Linked DNA regions of Homo sapiens: regions 2 and 3 are each linked to region 1. Evidence: promoter capture Hi-C in human tissues and cell types (Jung and others, 2019). All regions are on one chromosome and are shown on one strand. Each heading gives the region's core, a stretch centred on a gene start or on the middle of the fragment in contact. The rest is flanking DNA. Distances are from core to core; before and after follow the strand shown. Region 1 holds the start of ZNF462 (zinc finger protein 462). Region 2 overlaps LOC107987108 (a long non-coding RNA gene). Region 3 has its middle 140 kb from the start of RAD23B.

Evidence for each region. The method cuts DNA at HindIII sites, captures the fragments that hold promoters and counts their contacts. A contact is called where the count stands out against the background at its distance.
Region 2: a contact is called between a fragment that was not itself captured here and the fragment with the promoter of ZNF462 in region 1, in 2 of the 25 tissues and cell types used here (H1 embryonic stem cells and liver).
Region 3: a contact is called between a fragment that was not itself captured here and the fragment with the promoter of ZNF462 in region 1, in 2 of the 25 tissues and cell types used here (H1 embryonic stem cells and hippocampus).

The regions. Positions count from the first base shown.
Region 1 is chr9:106,860,863-106,865,395 of GRCh38, forward strand. It overlaps ZNF462 (zinc finger protein 462), which reads left to right and starts at 2,304. Exons shown (of 13, transcript NM_021224.6): 1 at 2,304-2,493. The HindIII fragment of the contact is 13,314 bases long and covers 1-4,533 here.
Region 2 is chr9:106,459,026-106,463,558 of GRCh38, forward strand. All of the region lies in intron 3 of LOC107987108 (a long non-coding RNA gene), which reads left to right. Among named protein-coding and RNA genes, the nearest start is that of MIR8081, 140 kb to the right of the region's middle. The HindIII fragment of the contact is 4,466 bases long and covers 1-4,447 here.
Region 3 is chr9:107,136,323-107,140,855 of GRCh38, forward strand. No RefSeq gene overlaps it. Among named protein-coding and RNA genes, the nearest start is that of RAD23B, 140 kb to the right of the region's middle. The HindIII fragment of the contact is 4,535 bases long and covers 87-4,533 here.

The sequences.
Region 1 (4,533 bases), core at 1,054-3,553:
GGGGAGTCCTCCCAAAGCCGCACAAAGCCGGGATCATTTCAATCCGGAACAGCCTCAGCGTCCTCCTCCTCTCTCCTTTCTTCTTTCTCTTCTCGGTGACTCCCGTTCCCCTTTCGCCTCTGTCCTTTCTGCGCCTTGTTCTCGTCTCCTTACTTCTCTTCCCTCTCCTCGCCTTTCCTCTCCCTCCCCCTCCTTTCTTCTCCACCGCACGCGTAGAGTGTCATTTATTTATTTATTTATCACCCCCGCCATCAACACCCTTTTAGGGATCCCGAGCTTTTCAATGTGAGTGGGAGGAGAAAAGGGCAGGAAGTGTTGACTGGAAGTGGGTGAAATCGTGCCTCGGGGTGAGAGATTCTGCTCAGGAATATAGGGTCGGGAAAATCTTGGAAAATGAGGATTTAGATCTGTTTATGAAGCCCCGCTATCGGATGGGAACCAACTCCGCGCGCGTCTCCTCCTCTTCCTTTATTGTATGGATTTATAGGTATATATCTTCTCGGACTGTTGCTTGGGGGGAGGGAGGAGAAAGGGCGAGTATTTAAAGAGGACAGACTTGCCCAGGATCCTTAACACCGCGCCTTCACCGGATGCGCGCTCCTCAATGCAAAGGAATCCAGCAACATCCCCAATTCAGACGCGGACAAAAGAAACTTTAATTAAGGTCTCTTTCTGCCCCGCGCGCTGCGCGTTTCTCTCTCCTGAGGCTGTTGATGTCCAACTCCAAGATCCAAGAAATAGAAATGGTACAATCAGCCCATGCCCTTGAACTTCAATTGCTCCTGACTTGCTGCATTGATTTTTTTGATACTGTAGAACCCCCATCCCCAACCCCCACCGCTCCCAGTCCAATTAAAACCGTAGGAGACTTTCGACCTGGTGGTGGAGGGGGGGAACCACTCCTTTGCAAAAGAGATAGTTCAGAATGATACGGGAGAGATTACACTAAATAAAAATTCAAGGTGTGAAAGCTTCATCTTGGCTCGCGTGTCTTCAACACCATGACACCTTATCATTAAGAGCGCTGATTGTTACTTTCCGAGCCTTTAGATGATCAGCCAGAAAGTGCAAACAACGCGGGGCTGGAGGGTGTAAAGTTATTTAAGCAGGCGTTCTTTTTTTCTTTTGGTGCGCAGTCAAAACATTTCACAAGTTAGGAAAAGAAAGTGGTGGTTCCGAAGCTCGGAATGATGGGCTCTTTTCCTCCTCCACCCCCCCACCTTCCATATCAGGAAAGAAATAAAACGCACAATGAGCCTTTATTTCAGGAGAGAAGACTTCAAAATACGTGCCAGTAATGGACAATTTGAGCTTTTCACTGGAAATACTCACACCGCAAGCTGGAAAGGGATTAAAAAGCCCCACGTGGTTGATCTGGGTTTATACTTGCAACCTCCAGTTCCCCACGTATGTTCTTTGCAAAGGTTGGCCTCTAGATGGATGCAAGTAAGGGACCCTCTGGGGCTCGGGCTCGGCGCCTCGGGCAGGGCTGACGTTGGGAGCGCTATGAGCTGCCGGGCAGGGTCCTCACCGGGGGCTTCCTCTGCGGGCCAGGGCTGCCGGGCGCCACCGGGACGCGAGCGCGCACGCCTCGGCCCGGCGGCCGCGCTCCTCGCACCGCCTTCTCCGCAGGTCTTTATTCATCATCTCATCTCCCTCTTCCCCTTCTCCTTCTCCTTTGCCTCCTTCTCCTTTGCCTCCTTCTCCTCCTCTTCCTCCCCCTCCTCCACCACCACCTCCTCCTCCTCTGCCGCCGCCACCTCCTCCTCTTGCATCTCACTGGCCTGGCTCTGAGTGACAAAGACAATGTCCCAGCCTTAACTTTGCAACCACCTTGCCTCCTTCTGGGGTTCAGCAGGGGGGAGGGGGAACAGCAGCAGCAGCCTCAGCATCTCCTCCAGCTTCTCCTTCTGCTCTTCTCGAGCTCTTGGATAATTCTTCCTCTTTTTTCCCCTAGCCTTTTTCCTCATTTCTTTCTTTCTTTCTTTTTTTCCTTCCTCTCTGCTGCACGTTGTTGTTGTTATTAGAAAGGCTTCGCGCACCCCCTGGTGCTCCGGCGTTTTGTGTGGCAGGAGAAGATTGTCTTCCTTCTCTCTTTCTGTCTTGCTTTCTCTCTCCCCCTGGTTGCTCATTATTCAGAGAGAGACACAGAGGGAGGGAGAGAGAGAGAGCGCGCGAGGGAGAGGGAGGAGAGGAGAGAGAAGAGGAGAGAGAGGGGAGAGAGAGAGTGAGAGGGAGAGGGAGGGAGGGAGAGAGAGAGAGAGGGAGAGAGACGGATATCTCAGGTCATCTGCAGCTGCAGCGAGTCTGAGGAGCCGAGGAAGGCAGGGAAGATGGCGATCCTCCATTGCTGAGACCCGGCAGAAGCACATGAGACTCCCAAACAACTTCCACAACAATAACCCGAGCAGGAAGAGGAGAAAGAGAAAGAGGATAAGGAGGCGGTGGGGCTGGAGAACCCGAAGCACCTCCCGGCGCCGGGACGCTTCTTCTGTAAGTTACTGCAATTAACAACCACCTCGGGGTGGTCCGAGTGCTCCGGGGAAGAGAGCGCGGGGTGGTGGAGGCACAAACGCGCTCATTCATTCGGCCAAGGAGGGTTGGAGGAGCGGGGAGGAGAGGAAGTCCCCTGCATGGACTGGCTGTTGGAAGAGGAGAAGAAGCGAGAGAGAAGAGGAGGAGGGGGAGGAGGGAGAGCAGGAGGGGGAGGAGGAAGAGGAGGAGGAGAAGCGAGGGAGGAAGAGGAGGAGGAGGAAGAGGAGGAGAAGGTGGTAGTGGTGGCAGTGGAGGTGGCTGTGCTTTTCCTGCTGGCTGCTGCTCCTGCTGGGGGGAGTGAGCGCGGTGGCTTAATTAATTTCGTGTAGTTCTATGAAGAGAAGAGAAAATGAAAGATGAGTGAGAAGAGAGCTGGAGGCTTAGGACGGATGCTCCGAGTGTGGGGACAGGAGTAGGGACAGAGGGGGGCGGAGGGCGGGAGGCCGGAGACCTGAGCCGAGAGCCAGAGGGAGCGAGCGAGGGTCAGAGGAGGGAGAGCTCCGTGCGAGCGGCCCCGACCTGAGCGGGTTGACCTCTTTCTTTCTCTGTCCCTCTCCTTCCTTTCCCCCTTCTGTCTGCCTGTCCCCCGCCCGATGGCAAAGCCGTGCGGATTGGCAGCCCCCCTCTTCCTCAGGTATTTGGCTCTCTCTCTCTCTCTCTCTCTCTCTCTCTCTCTCTCTCTCTCTCTCTCTCTCTCTCTCTCTCTCTCTCTCCCTCTCCCCGAAGTTGGGATGCGGGGTCGGGATGTGTCGGGGGGTGGCTGCTGCAGCTGCTGGTGCCGGTGCTGCTGGTGAACAGAGAGGCGAGGAGCGGGGGGCACCGGCCGGGTGGGGGGCGCAGGTTCAGGAGCGGCTGAGGAGCTGTCTCCAGGCTGGAGGTTCAGAAGCGTCTGGTGGAGGAGGACAACGGTTTCTGGAGAGGAGAAGCCATTACACACGCTTGGCTCTCCTCTGAGGAAGGGAGAAAGGAAGGCAGGGGCCTGGGGGGGCGTCTCACTCCTGGTGCAGTTCCCAGGGGTCTGCCCTCCTTCCAGGCACGAGGGGAAGCCGCAGCCGCCCCCCATTGGAGCAGCCCCTCTTTCCCTTTCTTTATCTCCCTGTCCTCCATTTGCAAGCTGTCTGCTTTGGTTCCAGTCCAGACTCCAAAACACAAAGCTCCTTCTCACGTTCATTCTCCAGGCTGTTCACCATTCCTGAAGGAACCCTCGTTTTCTTTTCATTGTGGCTTCTAACCTACAGAGAGGGAGGGAGGGAGGCTGCCTGGAGTTCCTTTTATATTCCTCCCCAACCAAGAAAAAAAAAAGTTTCATTTTTAAGCACGCGTCTGGGATGGGGAAAGACCAACCAGTTGGGGCTTTCTCCCAGGGCTCCCGGGGGCTGTGTCTGAGTGTCTGTGTTGGCTGTTTGGTTTGCTTTGGTTTTGTTTCTGGAGGTTGCTTGCAGGTTTTTGGAGGAAGTGACTAGTTTGGTTAAGAGCTGGGAACTGAGTCAGGTAAGCCGTGTCATGTTGTAACTCCACCAGAAAATGGAGGAGAGCGGGTTTCCAGGAGACAAAGCTGAGATGAGAAGTGTTTATAAAATTATGGATGTCTCCATTTTGAAGCTCTGTTGGTGATGGCTGGAGGAGGAGGAGGCTTGCTTGCCTACTCCTTCTCTCTTTCCAGAGGGAAACCTTGTGGTGGTTCCTCACTGTCTATTCATTATGCAAGGAAATGAGGGCTTTTAAGGGTTCCTCAGATTTTTCTCCACCAAAGAGTGCTTTCACAAGTTATTGAGGCGTTTGTTTCCATTTTAAAGTAAACTTTTGGAATTTTTTTTCTCCTTTTGAGTGGACCTGAAGGGTTTTGACCTCCTTCAGGAAAGGCAAGGCAAAAACCTTAAAACAGTTCCACTGAGGTCTTCACACAACTTTAAGCTGCTCCAGGTCTCCTGAAAGTCACCAGGAAATGTGATTTCCTCCTTGTGAAGATGGTGATGGCCCTAAGCTGAGATTTTTTTG
Region 2 (4,533 bases), core at 965-3,464, 400 kb before region 1:
TTTCCATTCAAAAATATTTATTGAGCAACTATGGCATGGGGCATTGTGGATATATAGGTATAGACAAGTCAAGTAAGTCTATGCTTATATGAAGTTTATGTCACAGAGATGTTGAAACAGACAATAAACAAATGTGTGATATAATTTTAGGTTATTACTAGTATTTTGAAGAAAAGCAAAGCAGAATCGAGGCTAGAAAGTGATTGTGGTGATGCTGCTACTTTGAAATAATCGTCAGGGAGTTTTCTCTGAGGAAAGAACTTTGAGTTGAGATGTATGAAAGCAAACCACGTGGAAACGTGAGGAAGAGATTTACAAATAGAGGGTACAGTAAATGCAGATGTCTAGAATAGAGAAGCTTCATAGGTTCATGAAAAAGGGAGAAAGTCAGTGTAATGGGAATGGAATGAATGAGGAGGGTACCAGGAAGGGAGGTAGGCAGGGGCCAATTCAGGTAGGATTGTGTTGGCCATGATTGATACGAAATCATTGTGGAGTTTGATCAAGGGAGACATGTGGTTTTACTTTTCCACATTCAAACATGCACTTTTGCTGGTATATGGAGAATAGTCCAGAAGGACCAACATAGAAACAGGGGCTACTGCAGTCTTCTTTATTTTAAATCCCCAATATCCAATATAATGGCTGGTGCATACTTGTGAACAATTAATTCGGGGTTTTTTTTTTTTTTTTGAAAGGACATTTGGGCTAGGGAATGTACAACAATCTCAAAACTGTTGAACTATGAGCTCACTTTTGAACTATGAGCTCACTGGTGGGTATAGCACAAAGCAGGGACAACCAGACTACTTTTTCAGTTAAGTGAGGTTCATTCAACAGCATTTTGAATAACAAAGTTCACAAATAGACAATGAATTGTCAGGATTTTCAAATAATTTTGAAAAAGAACATCAATCAATAACTATCCAATATGGCCTTAAAATTGACTGTCTGATGAACCAGCAGTAATAAACAGCAAGAGCTTCCTATTCTTGCTTCAAAGCAGGAAGAAGGAGGTTGGTAGTAAAACCCTGCTCCAGATTTCTAGCTGTGAAAAAATATGAGCATTTTTTATCATTTCAAACCTTCAAATTCTTGAGATCTCTTAAAAAATGCTTTTGTGAGTAAAACAAAGACACATTTCCTTATAAATCCAGAAAACACAGGAGCTATTAAGCTTGAGAGCCCCTTTTAAGTCACGCCATTGCCAGGACTCTAACTCAGGTTGGATACCATATGTGGCTGTTCTTAAGTGGTCACTGTAAAATGTCAGAGGTTTGAGAAATAGGTATTCAGGTGTTTGGAGAAACAAATAATCTGTACTCAGAGGTACTAGAAATAATTCCCTTAAGAAGCTTAATAATTCTCATCAATGGAATGGTTTTTGGCTTCTCTAGTATCTCTCGTAGCATTAGTCAGTGCTAATTTATTAGTAATAAATATTGACTGAACAAAATTCTGATCCAGGAATACAGCAGTAAAGTACTAGGATCTCCAGAACATTTATTCATTTGTTCATGAGAAATATTGTGAAACAATTTCAATGTATGACATACTGTGTTAGACAGTAGAAATATAAATATGAAAAAATAGTCTAGTGAGAAATCAGCCATTTTAAAAAATTATAAAAACAATGGGTTAGATGCCAGAATGAAAGATTCTGTTATAACGGATGATACAGTTAAATGGAAGTTCTGAAATTGGCCTCGGATGCTTACCAGATATATGGGTGGTATCAAGCACCTACAGAGAGAGTAGAAACCCTTGTTATATAAAGAGGGCCCTTATCTTGTCCTAATCCTTGTGCTTTTACCTTGGGCCACAGACTGTGCTCCTCCTCTCTCACTCTTCTTTACCCACTGGCTTTTGATTCTCACATGTGTATTCTTCAATATAAACTTTTGAGTGATTTCACCAAGTTCAAAAAATAACTCCATTGTGATTTTGACTGTCATTTTCTTAGTCCTATACCAAAATTTGGAAGAATTTGTACTCTTGAAATACTAAAGATAATAATAGTATAGGAGGACAATCTGCCTCCCTATTATTTAAATCTTAATTTATATTTCTCAGGGTAGTTTTATAGGTTTTGTTTACTTTATTCCTAAACATTGTTCATGAAGATTAGTCTTAGGGTGTTTTTTGGCAGGGGAGGCTCAGGATGAATTGAATACTTTTTGTATTTATATTTCTAATTAATACTGTTTGCTATATAGGGAAACTATTGAATTTTTAAAATGTATCTTATATTTAATCACTTCCTTAAATTTTCTAATGGATCTTAAATTTTTTTCAGTTGATATTCAAATTGTAGCAAAAACAACAAATGGATTTACTCCTTCATTGTTCTGTTGAATGTTCTATTTTGGCAGCCCCAATTTCCAGAACAAAGATAAAATGCCAAGGGGCTGATCCAAGGAGAAACTCTACTTTTGCCTCAGGATTTTTCAGAGCTTGTCCCAGAACTGATTGAGGCACTTTTCTTTTGTCATTGACTTTGACATGCCTAATTGCTCCTTTTCAGTTGAGAATGACTGTACCATTAGCTATGGAAGGTCTATGTCTAGTATGTGCCGGGACAATGGCTGCCACCTTGACCTACAAATTCTAGTCAAGTGTTCTTCCCTTTACTCCCTTTCTCCCAAACTCCTGGATTCAATAGACATTTTCTCAGCGCCTATCACTGTAATGAGCCAAGTCCTAAGGCTTTAAAGATGTTAGATCTTACCTTGAAGGTACTAACAGCTAAGGACAGCCAATGGTATTTCTCTTGTGAGTTCCATACAACATGTACATCCAACCACCTGATTACCATCATCTCTTAAATTTCCCACAGAAATCTCAAACCTAATATTCCTATAACAGAAATCTTGATTCTGTCATCAAACCCACTCCCCTTCTTTATACATAATACCAACTTACATTATGTTGTTCAAGCAAGAAACCTGGAAAATTTTCCTGATTTCTTCATTCTCTTCATCAACTTCCCACTCTCATTCCATCCGTCTGCAAGTACTGTTGAGTTAATACCCAACATGTTTTTAAAATCTATCTGCTTCTCTTTATCTATACTGTCACTACATTGGTTCATGACACAATAATCTCTTGCTTGAATTACTATACCAGCCTCCTAACTGGTTGCTTCACTTCCATGTCTACCCAGCATGATTTCATCATCCAATAACAGCCATATACATTTTTTTTAAACTTAGACTTAAATTTCATCATTCCATCACTGCTTTAAACATTTAAAGGTCTTGGTAATTTCACTAAAGTATAAATCTTTTACTATAGTCCAGGGTCCTCTGTGAACTTGTCCTTGCCTATCACTCCATTTCATCTCACATTACTTTTCCTTTCCACGGTACGCACCCCAGCTATACTGGATTTTCCTCGGTTCTTCAAACAGGCCTTTGCAGATACCATTCCATCTGCCCAGATTGTCTATTTCTCTACTTGTCACATGGCTAATTGCTTCTCATCCCTTACATCCATAGTCTTCAAATATTTTTGATTATCATGGGGCAAAAACATTGAACCTGGCCAGGTGAGGTGGCTCCTGTCTGTAATCTCAGCACTTTGGGTGGCCGAGGTGAGTGGATCACTTGAGGTCAGGAGTTCGAGACCAGACTAGCCAACATGGTGAAACCCCATATCTACTAAAAATACAAAAAAATTAGCTGGGCATGGTGGTGGGTGCCTGTAATCCCAGCTTCTCGGGAGGCTGAGGCAGGAGAATCGCTTGAACCTGGGAGGCAGAGTTGCAGTGAGCCAAGATCATGCCATTGCACTCCAGGCTGTGAAACAGAGCAAGACTCCATCTGAAAAACAAAACAAAACAAACAAAAACATTGAACCTGTACTACTAAATTAACTATATTTATTTATTTATAATATATATACAAGTACTCCTTTGCTAACATATTATTTTCATTATGAAATATACACAAATATAGATGCATAACATAAGTATTAAAGATAAGATAATATTTAAATAATTATTTTGCTTCATTAATAATACATTGTTAAGGATATTTGGTACAAATTTATGTTTTAAGTCATGTACATATGACTATCATTTCACTCCATAAAGAAGCATAAGAAGATCTTATACTAAAAATAGATGTCTCAGTTGCTGTTTTATTGTTGCTTGGATTTGCCTTATTATGATTATTTTTTATCCATGGTTTCTTTGGAAGAAACTATTAAAGCTGTCTGTCAATTTTGACAGTCTTCATTTATTGAAAACTAGATAATATAATCTGAAAATTTGCTTAACCAGGCATTTACATATACTGCTATACATAGCGTTATGTATTACTATCATGGAAAGAGAAGGAACAAGTGAGGTGCTGCTGTCTTTTTTCTCCCTCAACATTGTGGAATTCCATTTTCTCTCTCCAGAGACTCAAACCGTGTGACATGTGGTCACATGAAAAATCCTGAGGCAAAAGTAGAGTTGCTCCTGGGATCAGCCTCTTGGCCTTTTATCTTTGTTCTGGAAATTGGGGCTGCCAAAATAGAACATTCAAC
Region 3 (4,533 bases), core at 1,104-3,603, 280 kb after region 1:
ACCTATAGAACTATAAGATAATAAATCTGTGCTGTTTTAAGCCACAAAGCTTATGGTAATTTGGTACAGCAGCAATAAGGAACTGATACACTACCCCCTCCACCTTTAGTCTATTCTGGAAAGCTTTCCTATCTGACGAGGCTAAGGTATCAGGGATATTCCCTAACTTGCCCATGAAGTGGGATGGGGTGGCAGAACCATGTCATAAGTCAAAGTCCACCTCAACTGGGCAACTATGAGACAAGAGATGTGCATTATAGCACGGTGATCAACACACAGCTCCTAGAGGCTGCAAGGCCTGTCTCTGCCATACTGGATTTGTCTGCTTGTCCAGTTTACTCCTGAACCTTTGAAATGTGAGGGTTTCATTTGTTTCTGTAAATGACCTTCTGTAACATGTATTTCCCATGCCTGAGTTCTCCAGAACCACTGTCCACTTAACTGAGAAACAGAGAAGGGAAGCAAAGGCCGTGACATCCAGTGTGCCTGCCACATCAGTCTCCCCTCTGTTTCTGAGGTGGCTGTGTACTGGAATTAAAGGTGTCAAAGGATCCATAGTTTCTCTCACTCTGTAGGTTGTGTGTTTACCCTGTTAATAGTTTCTTTTGCTGTGCGGAAGCTCTTTAGTTTAATTAGATCCCATTTGTCACATTTTTGCTTTTGTTGCAATTGCTTTCGGCATCTTCATCATGAAGTGTTTGCCCGTGCCTATGTCGTGAATGGTATTGCCTAGGTTGTCTTCCAGTGCCCACCAATGATAGACTGGATAAAGAAAATGTGGTCCATATATACCATGGAATACTATGCAGCCATGAAAAGAACGAGATCATGTCCTTTTCAGGGCCATGGATGGAGCTAGAGGCCATTATCCTTAGCAAACTAACAGAGGAACAGAAAACCGAAAACCACATGTTCTCACTTATAAGTAGGAGCTAAATGATGAAAACACATGGACACATCAAGGGGAACAACACACATTGGGACCTGTCAGAGGGCAAAGGGTAAGAGAAGGGAGAAGATCAGGAAAAATAGCTAATGGTTACTAGGCTTAATACCTGGTGATGACATAATCTGTACAACAAACCCACATGACATGACAAACTTGTACATGTACCCCTGAACCTAAAATAAAAGTTAAAAAAAAAAGATGTCAAAGAGGAGCAAAAGACAGTACAAAGCTTGGGAGGCAGCCACTTCTAGGATTTGAATGCTATGTCTGATGTGACCTAGCTGTGTGGCCTTTGGGCTAGTTGCTTAACCTCTCTGAGCCTTAGTTTCTTTATCTGTAAAATTTACACAAGAATGTTGACTTGCAAGTTTGCTGTAAATATTAGGCAATAAAACGTATAGAATGTTTCCAAAAAAGTACCTGGCACACAGTAGGTACACGGCCAACAGCACCTAATGGGAGTAGAACGCAAAAGAACACAGAATATGTGGAGTTCATATTGGTGACACACTGTAACCACTAGGGGGTGCTCAAAAACCCCTTTCACTCTGTCCCGAAGGAAAAATATCTCATCTTTGTGAGACTAAGATCCCAATTGGACATTGCCTAGGAGATAAAGTCTTCAGTGGAAGGAATAGAAGAGTTTAAACCTTCTATGTCAAAGCTTCCATGTCAAGAGATCTGTGTCAGATCTCTCTTTTGGGTGTCTTTTCTCGATTCCCTCCCATATGGCTGGAGTAGTGAGAGACCCAGCGCAGTGGTGTGCTACGGACCAAGGACTGTTAAATTTTCAGCTATTATTAAATACTAAATCATAGAAATTTACAAGTAAGTAAATCATTATAAACAAGAGTAATAAATACTCAAAAATCATTATTATTTCACTGTGTTTTACTGTCAGCTCTGATGTTGAGGTCACGCGTATTGTATCTTTAAGGTGGAAATATTACATAATCGTGTGCTACTGCGTGTCTTCCCAGCCCAATATTCAGTGGGGTCATGTTGGCAACTTGAAATTGGCCATGGTGGGAGTATTTGTACCACAGAAATTGGCAAACACTACAAACCAGGGCTTGATTTATTGTTCTGTTGATTATCTAGGGCAGGGGCCAACAAACTACATTCCGTGGGCCAAATTTGGCCCACTGCCTGTTTTGTAGAGCCAACTGTGAAATCACAGGCTAGCACTGTGAGCTGCAGAGACTAAGCTGGACATCCACCCCGCTCTGCTCTATTTCCCCTTTGCTCCCAGCACCTGCCTCTCTGGCTGGTGACCGCACATCATCACTGCCCAGGATCTATGCTGGTTGCCATCTACACATTGGAGACTGCTACTGGCAACTGCTGAGCACGATGCAAGTAGAATCTCAGGCTGGGAGTTGGTAACTTAGCGAGTCACCCCACCTCTGATCAGTTGTGCAAGCTGAGAAGAATGGGCTCTCTGAAAGAAGAAAAGGGAAAACTGGGATCTGGATGTCACTAGGGCAGACAGTAAGATTGATCTTGGCAGTCAGCATGAGCTGCTGCCCTTGTTGTGGGCAAAGTCCTTGTGGAGAAGCATTGCTCCTGTGTTGGAGGATGGCCTCTGGCTGGGAGAAACATGGTCCAACAGTGACTACAGTTGGTTTTCTGAAGCTCTGAGAGCAGCTCAGGCTAGCAGGCTGATAAATTGTAACCAAGTTAGTGAGTGCTATTAGGGACTCCCAAGGAGCTGTGAAAGTACACACAAGGGAACTAAAACACAGCCTGGGGTGAGGAGGGGCCAGAGAAGATGTCTTGAGAAGAACTCTCAGCTGGAGCTGAGAGCTGGGAGAAAAGCAAGAGTTAGTGAGGCAGTTGAAAGGGAAAAGTGTTTGGGGCAGAAGGAGCACTCAAGCAAAGAAACGGGAGTCAGAACATCGCGGTCCATGACCAGGGAACCTCAAGGTGATCTGTGCATGATTTGAACGATAGGTGCCTAGGGGGAGTAGAGACAGAGGATTGGCAGATCATACAGATCCCATGTCTTATTCTAATAAATTTGGGTCTTAAAGGATGATGGGAAGTTTCTCCAAGTGGATTTGAATTTTAGATATATCCCTTCAGCAGGAAACGTACAGCAGGGGCCCCCAACCCAGGGGCCATGGACCAGTACCCGTGCACAGTCTGTTAGGAACCGGGCTGCACAGCAGGAGGTGAGCTGTAGGTGAGTGAGTATTACCACCTAAGCTCCAGCTCCTGTCAGATCAACAGTGGCATTAGATTCTCATAGGAGTGTAAACCTTACTATGAACTGCGCATGCAAGGGTTATCTGCTCCATATAAGAATCTATCTAATGCCTGATGAAACCATTCCCTACTCCCCTATCCATGGAAAAATTGTCTTCCACAAAACTGGTCCCTGGTGCCAAAAATGTTGGAGACCACCAACATGGAGGATAGACTAGTGTTGGGAGGAACACTGGAGTTAACGAGATCATCAAGGAAGCTGTTGAGTAGTTCTAGTAAGGGATGCAAAGTCTCCATAAAATTGTGTGACAAATGAGGTAGCATCGGGTATTGGTTGGGATACAGGCTAAGCTATTATAAGAAAGAGGTCCAAATACAGTGGCTTAAATGAGATATAAGTGTATTTCTTTCCCACAATTCTGGCCAAAGCTAGGTGGGTGGCTGACGGTGGGCAGATATCTCTGCTTTGCAAAATCATCCAGAAATCCAGCTGGCTGGCCTGCTCTGCCAAACCCAACATGTGGCTGCCATTGCTGGATCCAAGGCTGCTGCTTCAGTTGTTGCCATTTCCCAGCCGGCAACAAAGGGGAAAGAAAGTCCAGGGCAGCAAGCAGCTTTGGCTTTAAGGAGATGTGGTTGTACTTATCACTGCTGTCATGCTTAGCTCAAAGAAAGTCTAGGAAATGTAGTCCATGGCAGGGTGGCCACGTGCCCAGCTAAAACTCAGGGGGTTCTATTATCCAAAGGTATATGAGGGGAATAGATTCTGGGGGTGGAGTTGGCAGTCTCTTCACCACAGAAATAGAGAAAAGATGTCAGAGTCAAGAGATATGTTAAAAGTTGAATCTACAAGATTTTTCAGTCTGGATTCTCAACTGCAAGCAAGAGAAATGGACTCAGACTTAAGCAGAAAAGGTATTTAAAGAAAGAAACATTGGATGTTTACAAATCACTGGGAAGGCTAGAGAATTGGTTCTGAAAATTGGCAAGAGCCAAGGACGGCTAAGCAGACAAGATATTCAGGAATAGGAGCTGCCTGAAATGAAACGCACTGCTGCCAACACCAGGTATGGGGTGCTGTGCACCAGCACTGCACGCCAGATGCTGTCATGGGCACCATTGCCACCACCTGTTCCCTACTTCTTTGCATCACTTGAAAAAGTTAGGGCCAGGTGCAGCGGCTCACGTCTGTAATTCCAGTACTTTGGGAGGCCAAGGTGGGAGGATCACCTGAAGCCAGGAGTGTGAGACCAGCCTTGGCAACATAGCAAGACCCACTCTCTACACAAAATTTAAAAATTAGCCAGGCATTTTGTGCACACCTGTAGTTGCAGCTACTGGGGAGACCGGGGCAGAAGATCGCTTGAGCCCAGGAG